Linked DNA regions of Homo sapiens: regions 1 and 2 are each linked to region 3. The links are contacts of gene promoters, found by promoter capture Hi-C in blood cells and fetal thymus (Javierre and others, 2016). All regions are on one chromosome and are shown on one strand. Each heading gives the region's core, a stretch centred on a gene start or on the middle of the fragment in contact. The rest is flanking DNA. Distances are from core to core; before and after follow the strand shown. Region 1 overlaps ST7L (suppression of tumorigenicity 7 like). Region 2 overlaps ST7L (suppression of tumorigenicity 7 like). Region 3 holds the start of CTTNBP2NL (CTTNBP2 N-terminal like).

Evidence for each region. The method cuts DNA at HindIII sites, captures the fragments that hold promoters and counts their contacts. A CHiCAGO score of 5 or more calls a contact.
Region 1: a contact is called between a fragment that was not itself captured here and the fragment with the promoter of CTTNBP2NL in region 3, in 1 of 17 cell types (endothelial precursors). The highest score is 5.3, in endothelial precursors.
Region 2: a fragment that was not itself captured here is called in contact with the fragment with the promoter of CTTNBP2NL in region 3 in 1 of 17 cell types (M2 macrophages); the score reaches 5.3 in M2 macrophages.

Annotation. Positions count from the first base shown.
Region 1 is chr1:112,540,975-112,545,313 of GRCh38, reverse strand. ST7L (suppression of tumorigenicity 7 like) reads left to right here. Exons shown (of 15, transcript NM_017744.5): 14 at 3,224-3,363. Among named protein-coding and RNA genes, the nearest start is that of WNT2B, 34 kb to the right of the region's middle. The HindIII fragment of the contact is 1,939 bases long and covers 1,008-2,946 here.
Region 2 is chr1:112,596,585-112,600,558 of GRCh38, reverse strand. ST7L (suppression of tumorigenicity 7 like) reads left to right here. Exons shown (of 15, transcript NM_017744.5): 5 at 2,473-2,588. Among named protein-coding and RNA genes, the nearest start is that of ST7L, 21 kb to the left of the region's middle. The HindIII fragment of the contact is 7,279 bases long and covers 1-3,974 here.
Region 3 is chr1:112,393,939-112,398,254 of GRCh38, reverse strand. It overlaps CTTNBP2NL (CTTNBP2 N-terminal like), which reads right to left and starts at 2,041. Exons shown (of 6, transcript NM_018704.3): 1 at 1,983-2,041. RefSeq lists a silencer at 1,794-1,843. The HindIII fragment of the contact is 10,453 bases long and covers 1-4,316 here.

The DNA.
Region 1 (4,339 bases), core at 728-3,227, 150 kb before region 3:
AAGCTGTAAGCTATAAGACCAGACAGTTTATTCTTGGCAAGCCTTTATTCTAACTTGGTGCAAACTCCAGAAGGTAGGAGAGGGGGAATATGCTGGGGGGTTTTGTTTGATTATATTTTATGTTCTTAGAGTATTTTTTTCTGTCTCTGACTGTGGAAGAATGAACAAATTGTTAACAATAAGGAGTTTTAATACCCAGGAGTACTTAATGTTTTTTGTTTTTAATTTTCCTTCAACTTTGATATGACTTACCGCATTCTGGAATTTGCTTATGGACCTCATAAGTTCAGAGTTGAACTATTCCCCTAGTTCACATAGCTATTTAGTCGTCTTTTATGCCTTCTGATAAATTTTTCTCTACAAGCCAGTGATGAAATTTGAACTTTCGTTCCAAGGGAGTGTTTCTGTAATAGTCATCCATTATTTTGATGTATTAGCCAAACATTGACTGACAAATGAATCTACAGAAAGCAATCCAGGAAGAAATAATTAGGTCTCTCTTACAGTATAAAAATCTCATATTTTAGGAAATTTCCTCACTAAAGCTATGCAGTTTTCTACCTTATAAAGTGAGAATACTACTATCTCTTAGGGTTACTGAAAAGAATTAAATGAGCTAATATAAATTAAAGTTCTTTATAAACCATAAAATGCTATATAGGTTAGGTAATATTACTAACTTTGCTGTCTTGTATGTGTTTCCCACCTTCTTGAATAGCAGGGTTTGTTTCTCTTGATTTGAAGTTGGGAAGAAGAAGAAGTTGGCCTCTCATGGCTGAGGGACAGGGCAAAGGGGATTGCTGACTGGTTCTTTGGGTGCTGAAAGCACAATGTTCTCTACAGTTTCTAATGTTTCTAACTTTTAAAACTTCCATTTTGATGTGCTTTTACTTTAATCATGGCTCAAGGTTCTGGACATTTTCTGGATTTTTAATGGGTTTGTGTTTTGGTATATACTTTCTGAATATAGTAAAATAAAAATTAAAATATAGCTGTTGAAGGAAGCTTAGGTGTAATCTCTGTGAATCATTATGTTTTAAAAGTGAAATTTATAGCTGACCTTGGTTCAGCACAAAATTAGTCATCCCTTACTAATGCAGGATATTACATCAGAAATTCCTGGGTTAGTATCCAGCCCTAAGCGGTCAACTTCCTGGCCTAATGAAGTCCCAGAATAGCTCTCAGTTTAGCAGACATTTATTGAGCACCTACTGCATGTTAAGTACTCTAATAGGCTCATCTCAGTATTGTTATTCAAGTATTTTCAAATTTCAAATAAAATATAAATACTTGAGTATAATTGATAACGAAATATCCAATCACTAGAAAAATAATAGCTGAGTAAATATGTAAATATGGTAAAATAAGACAAGGGACTTTATTTATGGTCAGAATCCTAGGCCTTCAGTTTGCTAGTTTAGGTTTTTTTTTTTTTTTTTTTTTTTGAGATAGAGTCTCACTCTGTTGCCCAGGCTAGAGTGCAGTGGCATGATCTTGGCTCACTGCAACCTCTGCCTCTCAGGTTCTAGCGATCCTCCTGCCTCAGCCTCCCAAGTAGCTGTGACTATAGGTGCACGTCACCATGCCTGGCTAATCTTTCTATTTTTAGTAGAGATGGGGTTTCACTATGTTGGCCAAGCTGATCTCAAACCCCTGAACTCAAATGATTCACCTGCCTCGGCCTCCCAAAGTGCTGGGATTACAGACATGAGCAACCACACCTGGCCTACCTACTTTATTTATTAATTAATTTACATATTTATTTTTGAGACAGAGTCTTGCTCTGTTGCCAGGCTGGAGTGCAGTGGCACAATCCCAGCTCACTGCACCCTCCGCCTCCCGGGTTCAAGCGATTTTCCTGCTCAGCCTTCCTGAGTAGCTGGGACTATAGGCGCGTGTCACCACGCCCACCTAATTTTTATATTTTTAGTAGAGACGGGGTTTCACCATGTTGGCCAGGATGGTCTCGATCTCCTGACCTCGTGATCCACCCGACTTAGCCTCCCAAGGTGCTGGGATTACAGGCGTGAGCCACTGCTCCCGTCTTACCTACTTTAGTTTTACAGTGCCTAATGAAATGCCACATATATAAACACATTAATAACTGGGTAAAATTATTAACTGATGGTCCTAGGAAATCACCAATGACATGTCTGCCTCTTTCTCCATACTAGTCTTTGAGCTCCCAAAGAACAATAATTAATAACAACTCAATGCCAGGTGTGGTGGCTTATACCTGTAATCCCAGCGCTTTGGGAGGCCGAGGTGGACGGATCACTTTAGGCCAGGAGTTTGAGACCAGCCTGGCCAACATGGCAAAACCCCTCTCTACTAAAAATACAAAAAAGTAGCTGGGCGTAGTGGCCTGTGCATGTAATCCCAGCTACTTGGGAGGCTAAGGCACAAGAGTCACTTGAACCTGGGTGGCAGAGGTTGCAGTGAGCCGAGATCATGTCACTGCACTCCAGCCTAGGCAACAGAGCGAGACTCTTCTTCTTCAAAAAAAAAAGTAGCAACTCAAATGTATTTATTTATTTATTTATTTATTTATTTATTTATTTATTTAGAGACAGGTCTGTCACCCAGGCTGGAGTGCAGTGGAATGATCATAGCTCACTGCAGCCTCAAACTCCTGGGTTCCAGTGATTTTCCCATCTCATCCTCCAGAGTAGCTGGACCTACAGGCACACACCACCATGCTGGGCTAATTTTTAAAATTTTTAAAAATTTTTAAGCACGATTTTGCTTAGGTTAGTGTCGCATGCCTGGCTTTAAGCGATCCTCCTCTTTGGCCCCCCAAAGCGCTGGGATTACAGACGTGAACCACCACCTGTGGCTGCAACTCACATTAAGCACTTAAAATGTTCATCATTACAACTCTCCATAGCAACTTCTAGAGGGTTTAGCAACTTATTCAAGATCACATAGCTAATAAGTGACAAAGCTTTTTTTCAAAATCACCTCAGCATGATTTTGTAATCAATATTCTTTCCCATGACGCCATCCTGTTCCCACACCCAGCACAGTTGTCTGGCTATTTAGATATGCTGTTGATGCTGGGATAAATAATGGATAACTGTCTTCTACCTTGCTTAGCCAGAGACTTTCCTTTTTAAATTTTTTTTCTTTTTAATTTTTAAAAACAGATTTCATTTGAAAAGATTAAGACTTGTTTACATGTTATTCTGAAATAAAATTGATTCTTACCTATTCTCCATTGCAGCCTTTCATCATGTTTCTGTTTACCCAAAAAAGGAGCTTCCTTTGTTCATCCATTTCACAGCAGGATTTTGCTCTTCTACAGCAATGATAGCCATTCTCACTCACCAGTTTCCTGAAATCATGGGTATTTTTGCTAAAGCTGTAAGTATGATCTCAAGGACTTGTGTAGATTATTTGTAAAACACACAAGAAACCATCTCTGATCTGCCTGTGCTAACCCAGCTGAACAATGGAAGATATTTGTTGTAAATTAAAGGAATTGATTTGTATATAGTTGCTGCCATAAATACATCAAACATAAATTTTTGGTGATTTGAGCTACTTCTGTTGCTTAAAAGTTTAAAGAATACAATATAAGATTGTAACAATATAACATTATAAAGTTTGCTCTTATAGATCACTTTTGGTGATAAACAGCATTTGTTACTATCTTTGGTATTTTTAAAAATACCCTATTTTGTAAACAAACCCTTTGATTTTTTTCATTTAAATGAAATCATTAGTTCTCAGGATTTGTTGAACTTTAAACTCAAGAGCACAACTAGGATGGATAATAAGTACATAAGGCGGGGGAACAGATGGGACATTTGTCCCTAGGTACAGAATGTGCCTATGTCTCAAAGGTTCTCCAAGTTATTGTGTCTGCTTGTTCTTACTTCCCCAGACTTGGATATAGAACCATGTGTAGTTCTATATTTTCATTTTTACCCTTTAGTTTTGAACTACTTCCCCATTTCCTGAACCAGTTAACACTTGAGGACTGATACTAGAGTGGGTATCCCATCACTATTTACTTTTTTTTTTTTTTCTGAGACAAGGTCTCGCTGTGACCCAGGCTGGAGTGCAGTGGTACGATCTCAGCTCACTGCAGCCTCCGCCTCCTGGGTTCAACAGTCCTCCCGCCTCAGCCCCCCGAGTAGCTGGGACTATAGGCACATGCCACCATGCCCAGCTAATGTTTGTATTTTTTGTAGAGGCAGGGTTTTGCCATGTTGCCCAGGCTGGTCTTGAACTCCTGGGCTCAAGTGATCTGCCCGCCTCAGCCTCCCAAAGTGCTGGGATTACAGGCATGAGCCGCCATGCCCAGCAACTATTTACTTTTCTATATGAACTTATT
Region 2 (3,974 bases), core at 1,281-3,780, 200 kb before region 3:
AGTAGCACGATCATAGCTAGCTGCAGCCTTGAGCTCCTGGGCTCAAGGAATTCTCCTGCCTCAGCCTCCCAAGTAGCTGGGACTATAGGCACATGCCACCACATCCAGCTAATTTTTTTTTTTAAGTGAAAGCCAGTTTATTAAGAAAGGAAAGGAATAAAAGAATCGCTACTCCATAGGCAGAGACCACATCCAGCTAATTTTTTTAAATTTTTGGTAGAGGCCAGGTGCAGTGGCTCATGCCTGTAATCCCAGCACTTTGGGAGGCCAAGGTGGGCGGATCACTTGAAGTCAGGAGTTCAAGACCAGCCTGGCCAACATGGTGAAACCCCGTCTCTACTAAAACAAAAATTAGCTGGACGTGGAGGAAGACACCTGTAATCCCAGCTACTTGGGAGGCTGAGGCAGGAGAATCACTTGAACCCAGGAGGCAACGGTTGCAGTGAGCTGAGATGACGCCATTGCACTCCAGCCCAGGCGACAAGAGCAAAACTCCATCTCAAAAAAAAAAATTTTTGGTAGACAGGGGTCTTGCTATGTTGCCAAGGTTGGTCCCAAACTTCTGGGCCCAAGTAATACTCCTGCCTTGGCCTTCCAAATCACTGGAATTACAAGCATGAGCCACCACACATAGCCTGTGTTTAATTTGATAATCATAAGAAACATTACATCAAACTATATGTTTGTGATACGTATAAGTATATATTAGGCCCCTGGTTTATAATACATATAAGTATTTGTGATACGTATAAGTATACATTGTATACATTTAAGTATGTATTAGGCCCCTGGTTTATAAAAAGCCTTTTTCAAAGAATTTGTGACATTAAGAAAAAATTACCAGTGTCAGCATATTCCTGTGCATGAGTGCTAAATTTCAAAATTTGAGGATGCATTAGAAAATATCACTCTGAATGTAAATTGTGCAACAGTAGAGGGACTATATATTGACTTCATATTGCCGCTTCCTATTTTCACTACTGTGTCCATTTCTCTTCTGGTTTTTAACTCTAAATGAGAAAACATCTTTTGAAACTTATGAGCAAAGATACTTTACTTTTATTTTGAGGAGTGCTGCGTTTTACCCAGAAGTAGAATGGGGCATGTTATTTAACTTATTGAATAAGAAACATTATGTTTGTACCATGTACAGGCACTGTGCAAAATGATGGAGATACAAAAATGACTAAGCAATAACTCCTATGCTTAAAGACATGATAGTGTAAGATAGTGACATTCTGTGAAGTGAAAGCCAGGCTTTTATGAAAGATGCCATTAGCCTGTGTTAAGGGATACCTGTAAGAAACAGGTCCTTGTATCTCTTACTGTGTTTAATCAAAGTTTGAGGCTATTTGTTGTATTATGCAGTATCCATTTCCTGAAGATCTTGAAAAGAAGTGTGTGTGTGTGTGTGTGTGTGTGTGTGTGTGTATACACACACATCCACATATATATATATATATATATATATATATATATATATATTTTTTTTTTTTTTTGAGGCTGAGTCTCTCTCTGTCATCCAGGCTGGAGTGCAGTTGTATGATCTTGGTTCACTGCAATCTCCTCCTCCTGGGTTCAAGTGATTCTTCTGCCTCAGCCTCCCAAGTAGCTGGGATCACAGGCGGCCGCTACCACATGCGGCTAATTTTTGTATTTTTAGGAGAGACAGGGTTTTACTATATTGGCCAGGCTGGTCTCAAACTCCTCAAACCCCAAGTGATCCTCCTGCCTCAGCCTCCCAAAGTGCCAAGGATTAAGGCGTGCGTGAGCCACTGTGCCTGGCCTAGGATAAATTTATTAGTATCAGGAATCCTTATGCTTCTTTTGAATGATTATTTTCTCTTAATGTTAAAGTATAACTTTTGGGTATACATTTCATATGTTAGCTCCATTCCAGGCTTCATTTTGTGTCTCAATTCCCAATCCTTAATTTTCGTTTTACTGAGTCTTTTTTTTTTTTAGTTAAAAAATAGAGATAAGATCTCGCTATATTGCTCAAGCTAGTCTTGAGCTCTTGGGCTCAAGTGATCCTTCAGCTTCAGCCTCCCCAGTAGCTGGGATTACGGGTGCAAGCCACTGCACCTGGCTGAATTTTTTTTTTTTTTTTTCTGGTAAAGACAGGGCTCACTGGCTCACTATGTTGCCCAGGCTGGTCTCAAACTGCAGGTCTCAAGTCATTCACCAGCCTCAGCCTCCCAAAGTGCTGAGATTACAGGCATGAGCCACGGCACCCGGCCCAATTCAATTTTCAGAAGCAGTTGTTTATTGAATATTATTTTTCTATTTGGTCTTTGATGTTTTATTATCATACTTTAAGTAGTTTGTGAGGTTATCTTTTGTTTTACTGATTGTAAGATTTTAAAACATCCAAATGTGTAGCAGTACATTTTTGAATTTAAGTAGTGTCTGTTATAGCAGATAGATGCTCTCTCATGTTCAATTTAAATATTTTGTTGTGTTTTGGTAAAGATACACTTGGGTGACTGGTAAAGAGCCACTTACATACTATGACATGAACCTGTCAGCTCAGGACCATCAGACCTTTTTCACCTGTGACACAGATTTTTTACGTCCTTCAGACACAGGTATGTATCATATCTGTTCATAGTATAAACAGTGATCATGAAGATCATCTTAAAAGTTCTTTAGAGTTATTTATTATAATATACAGAGTTATTTAGTTATTTGGCTTGGAGTTGTTTATATTATTGATAACAAACTCAGATTAAATTATGACTATAAGCTAGGTTGATACACTGCTTTTCCTTATAAAGAATTTAAAATATTTCATATTTCTTTTACTACTTCAAAAACCTTTCAGATCAAATATAGCAACTACTTTTCCAGAAAACAGTGTACCCCATTTCTGTCTGGGAAATGAACACCTGCAATTATACATAAAATAGAAGAACAGGTCAATGTATAAACATTGGAGAATGGCATGTACAGAAAACTGGAGTCTATTTTGTTTTAGTCGTGAGTTAGAGATACATATAAAGTGGTAGAAGATCATAGAAATTTCTGTGTTTAGTTTTCTCTAAGTGCTTATCTATAGAAGAGAGTATTGAGACTCTTAATTTTATGGTTTAAAGACAGGGCTGATTGATTGATTGATTTCACTCTGTTGTCCAGGCTGGAGTGCAGTGGTGCAATCATAGCTCCAAGTAACCTCAAACTCATTACAAAGCATTAGGATTATAGGCATGAGCCACTGTGCCCTGGTCTGGGATCTTTATCACAATTTTTCTTCTACTTTGAATGCACTCACCCTCCTTATCTATCTGATGAGTTACTTTTTATCCTTCATTATCCAAATTGAAAGTCACATTTTCTAGAAAGCCCTCTCTGGGATTCCTTGTCATAGAATTAAACATTTTGTTTTCTGCAGTTCTATACTACTTTGTCTAAACCTCTATGAAGTAACTTTAGTTAATTTATTCAGCCACAAACATTTATTTGTTAATGTTATTATATTGCTTTCATGTTTGTCTTTGCTACTAGGGTATAAACTTTTGGACAGCAGGGACTATATTCTCTTCATCTTTGAATCTCTATTATCCAGCACATTGCCTGGCATAATGTAAATATTAATATTTATTCTTTGAGGAAAGTATGAATGGGCTGGGCGCGGTGGCTCACGCCTGTAATCCCAGCACTTTGGGAGGCCGAGGTGGATGGATCACCAGAGGTCAGGAGTTCGAGACCAGCCTGGTCAACATGGTAAAACCCCGTCTCTACAAAAATATAAAAATTAGCTGGGCATGATGGTGGGTGCCTGTAATCCCAGCTACTCGGGAGGCTGAGGTGGGAGAATCACTTGAATCCCGGAGGTGGAGTTTGCCGTGAGCTGAGATTGGGCCATTGCACTCTAGCCTAGGCGACAGAGTGAGACTGCATCTCAAAAAAAAAAAAGTATGAATGAATGAATGGCCTAGATGTCACAGATGTCTAAGCAATTTCACTAATAATAG
Region 3 (4,316 bases), core at 792-3,291:
CAGATCTTGCTTACTGTGCTAAATAATAAAAGAATATTATTTGCTTTTTCCTATTAAACCTCGGCAATCACAACTTTGGTTTGCTTAGTCTCTTACCTTAGTTTATTTTCTGTTCTCTGTTGATATAATACAACTTATCTTTTTGGGATTTTCTGTTCTGCTTTTAGTTTTTTCTGCTGTTATTGCTGGGAGCTCACGTCTTACCCTTCTATTGCAGCACACATTGCGTTTGCTAGAGACACCCTCCAGTTTCTTCTTTGTACTTTCTTACTGGAGATTTGGAAACAATCACTGAGAAGACCTGTGAGCACCGAGTGGCTCTGAAAACTTCAAACCTAACTATTCAAAAGTAATTATCTTTAGGAAGTCTACCTTCAGAAAGTCTAATCAAGAAGGTAAAAGACAACAGTCATTACAATCACCCTCCGTGATTCCAACTCCTTGCATTTTATTGCCATCAGCTTTGGCTATAGCTGACAGAGGGGAGGTAGACTTGAGATTGGAAGCAAAAGAAACTATGCTAAAAACATGGTAAATTTTAATATATAAAAGCGCTAGCAATAGATGATTACTGGGGATTCAACGACATTAACATGAGGTCAAAATCAACACTTTGCACCTGCTGAAATGAAGACCACTTGACAAAACCTTTAGGAGCACACTAGAAGAGGCACTTTTTGGTAAACATGAATAGCTAGAATACCTTGCCTTTATTTACTCTTATCTCTGAGATTTAAAAATTGTTCTTACTTTTCATCCTCTAAATTTTGATAGATGATCGTAAAACCAATCAAAATATACATGAATGTTTCCTGGGGGCGGGGAGGACACTATAAAAAAGGGGTTAGAGAGTTACCAAAGGACATAGGACTAGATTAATCATAAACCTAGATGACTGACCCTGAATTTTCTTCAAACACTTCCTGTCTTTTGTTTCAACCTGCAGTATACCTTCAAGGTTAACTGCAGTCTCCCTGAGCAATGGACCAGCCCACCCTAGACTGGGATATACTCATTCCTAATCCACTGCTACTTATTTACTTATGTATACTGTTTCATTTGAAAACATGGTGTTATTCATTGACTGTCAAGCAACATATACTGCATTCCTGCCCACACAAAGCCAGCTCTGCAGATATCCAACACACCCACCTCACTGTGAAATATAAGATGGCTTTTCATCAAGTTCTCAGGGAGGAAATAGGGTGGAAAAGGAAAAATGAAACGCAATTCAAACCTAAGAAACCCTTAGAGGCTGGGTGCTCCCAGAAGGAACAGAAAGTAGAAGGAAGGTACAAAGGGTGAAGGAGAGGAGGTCCTAGTTCTCCCTCTTTCACAGTCCAAAACAGTCCCAAAACAGGAGAGCTCTCGACTCCTCACAAGAGGCCAGAGGATGCGAGGGGCTGCGGGAGGAAGACTGAGCATCAGAGAATGGGGGATGGGAAGAACTTAAGTGGGAGAAGCCGCTTCCTCCGTAAAGCTGGCTGTCTAGGTCGGTCTTTGATTTTTGCTTCGCCCCATCCCTCCTTTTTGGGAAACACCAATTTTATCTTACGGAGGAAAGCAGCTCCAGTCCCACCCTGGCGAGCAGGGACAGGTGTAGGGAGGGATGTTTGGCCTTCCGGGGGTACGAAATGGGGTTGGGGGCGGCAGCCTAGAGAATCGGTACCTGTGAGTCCTCTCCGCCAAGGCTGAGGTGCGGGGTGGGAGGTGCCTTTGAATGAGGGGTGTCAGAGGGAAGCCCCTTCTGAGGAGCTGGGAATCGACGAGGGACAAAAAGTAGCTGTGAGGACCCTCGGAGGATGAGGAGCCGCCTCCTCGGGGAATACCGGGAGGTGGAGGAGACGGCCCCGCCCCCTCAGGGGATGGGCCCAGAGGCCGTTGAGACGGCGGCGGGAGGCTACCGGTGCCCCTATCCTTGCTTTGCTCTTGAGAACCCGGCCTCCCAGCCATCACCAAGCCCCAGGGATAGTTGCTCCTACCTTTCCACGACGCTCCGGGCTCCGCTCCCCTCCGCCTCCACTCCCCATCCACAGCGGCTGAGGCTCCGCCCCCTCAGCCGCCCGGCGGGGGCATTGGCATTCACCAGCGCCAATCGCCTCCTTGCTTCTCCAGCCTCGGCCCCAATCCGCGCCGGCTGGAGGCGGGGCTTCTCCAAAGTCATTCAGGCTCCTCCCGGGGCCCCAAGATCCCTTTTGTTTGGGAAGAGCAAGGCCGGGATTGAGCTCGCGTCACTTCCGGGAGGAAGCGCCCTCCTGGGTCCTGGGCTTCAGGGTGGGCTCGCGCCCCTCCCGGCTCGGGGTCTGCAACTTTCCACCTCTGCGTGAAAAGTCTGGGCAGGACCGTGACTAGTGCTTCGTGCTTTTACCTGACTGTACGCGGAGTTTAGGAATGGAGGGCTCTGGTGGCCTAATCGATTGGGATTTTATCCAGAATGTTAATAAATGAAGTGGGCTTTGGTGTCTGCATTAGAATGAATTCGTTGTTGAAAAACCTGGCTTCCTTGCTCCCTTTTTTTTTTTCTTTTTTCTGGAAGCGCCTGTGGGCGTGGTGCTGGAAGCAAGGGTGCAAAGATGAAACACCTGGAGATCACCCTTCTCTCAACCACATTTTGTACAGAAGAGGATACTAACTTTGGGGGACATAAACCCAGCCGACCTGCCTTCCAGGCGGAAGTCAAATAATTGCAAATTTGTGTGGCAGGTTTTTCCACCCTATGCTTGCCAGCTGAGGCGACTTTTTTCTTTCCTTGGCCTCATTATATTGTGGGGAATGGTGTTTGCAGTGAAGTTGAAACAATGGAGAGTACAGAGGATGCAAGGAATGTCTGCCTTGTGAACACAGGAATGCAGATCTTGGTGGCAGCAAGTCTTAGGCAGGACCAAATAACTCAGAGAGGGGAGTGGATGTATAACTAGTTGTATCCCTACCTAAGGTCAAAGTTTCTGAATTCCTTTTCCACAGAATGGCTGTCAGCTCACAGATTGATGCAGCTGGTTACATTTACAATAACCACATTATTTAAAATACAATATAATAAATATTTGAGACGAATATTCATAATGCATAAATAATGTAGTACACTTAATACATTATCCCTAAACTTAGCAATTATAATTCGCAAGACAGCATTAGGGACCTAGTGCTTGCCTAGGCAGACAGTCCCCAAGGCAGATGCAGCCTGCCTCATGCAGTTTACAGTCTGACTGAGGGATGTGATCAGTTTGTGCGATTATAGTCTGAAAGAAGTAAACAAGTATTTATCATGTTATCACTGTGCCATGTACTTTCATTTAATGGTATTTGATGTCATTTTCAGTGCTGTATGAGAAATCTATCCTACAGTGTAGGATAGACATCATTGTGTCCAATTTACAGATGAGAAGATAGAGATTCAGAGAAGTCAAATAAAGTCATAGAGCTAGTAAATGGTAAAGAATTTCCAGTAAGGATGTATGACTCCATACTTATGCCATATTCTGCTCACTTCACACTGGCTCTCACATGCTGGACTAAGAATGGGCGTGGATGATGGTAAAGCAAACATTAGAGCCAGAAGGACAGCTCTATGCCTCCCCCTGTTGATTTTAGGCTTGGGAGGGTCATCTCTGTATATGAAGGATAGCAAGACTATGAGTGAAGGTGCTCGATAGCAGTGTAAGTGAATCTGGAGTAATGATGCAGGGTATACTGAACTTCAGAAAGGCATTATGCCTTGTGTTCTGAAAACTGACAATCTGAAAGCTAAAATGAGGGGCCAGGCACAGAGTAGGTACTCAATAAATATTGACTTGAAACAAAATGTCTGAAATGATTACAAATACAGAGTGTTAGGTGCTGGAGCAGGCAAAGGAACTTGAAAAATCCCATTTCCTCCTCCTCCCTTTCGCTCTGCCTATGTGTATGCAATGAGGAAGTGCCTCATCGCCTGACAATGAAGCAGATGTGGGAGAACAAGCTATTTTCTGCTGGCTTCTGAGTCACTCTAAGAGTTGTTCTAGTGAATCAGCTCCTCCCTTGTTTTTCTTTTCTTTTTTTTTTTTTTTTTTATCGAGATGGAGTCTCGCTCTGTCTCCCAGACTGGAGTGCAATGGCGCAATCTCTCACTACAACCTCCGCCTTCTGGGTTCAAGCGATTCTCCTGCCTCAGCTTTCCGAGTAGCTGGGATTATAGGCGCCTGTCACTGTGCCCAGCTAATTTTTATATTTTTAGTAGAGATGGGGTTTTGCCATGTTGGCCAGGCTGGTCTCAAACTCCTGACCTCAGGTGATCCACCTGCTGGCCTCCCAAAGTGGCTGGGATGACAGGCGTAAAC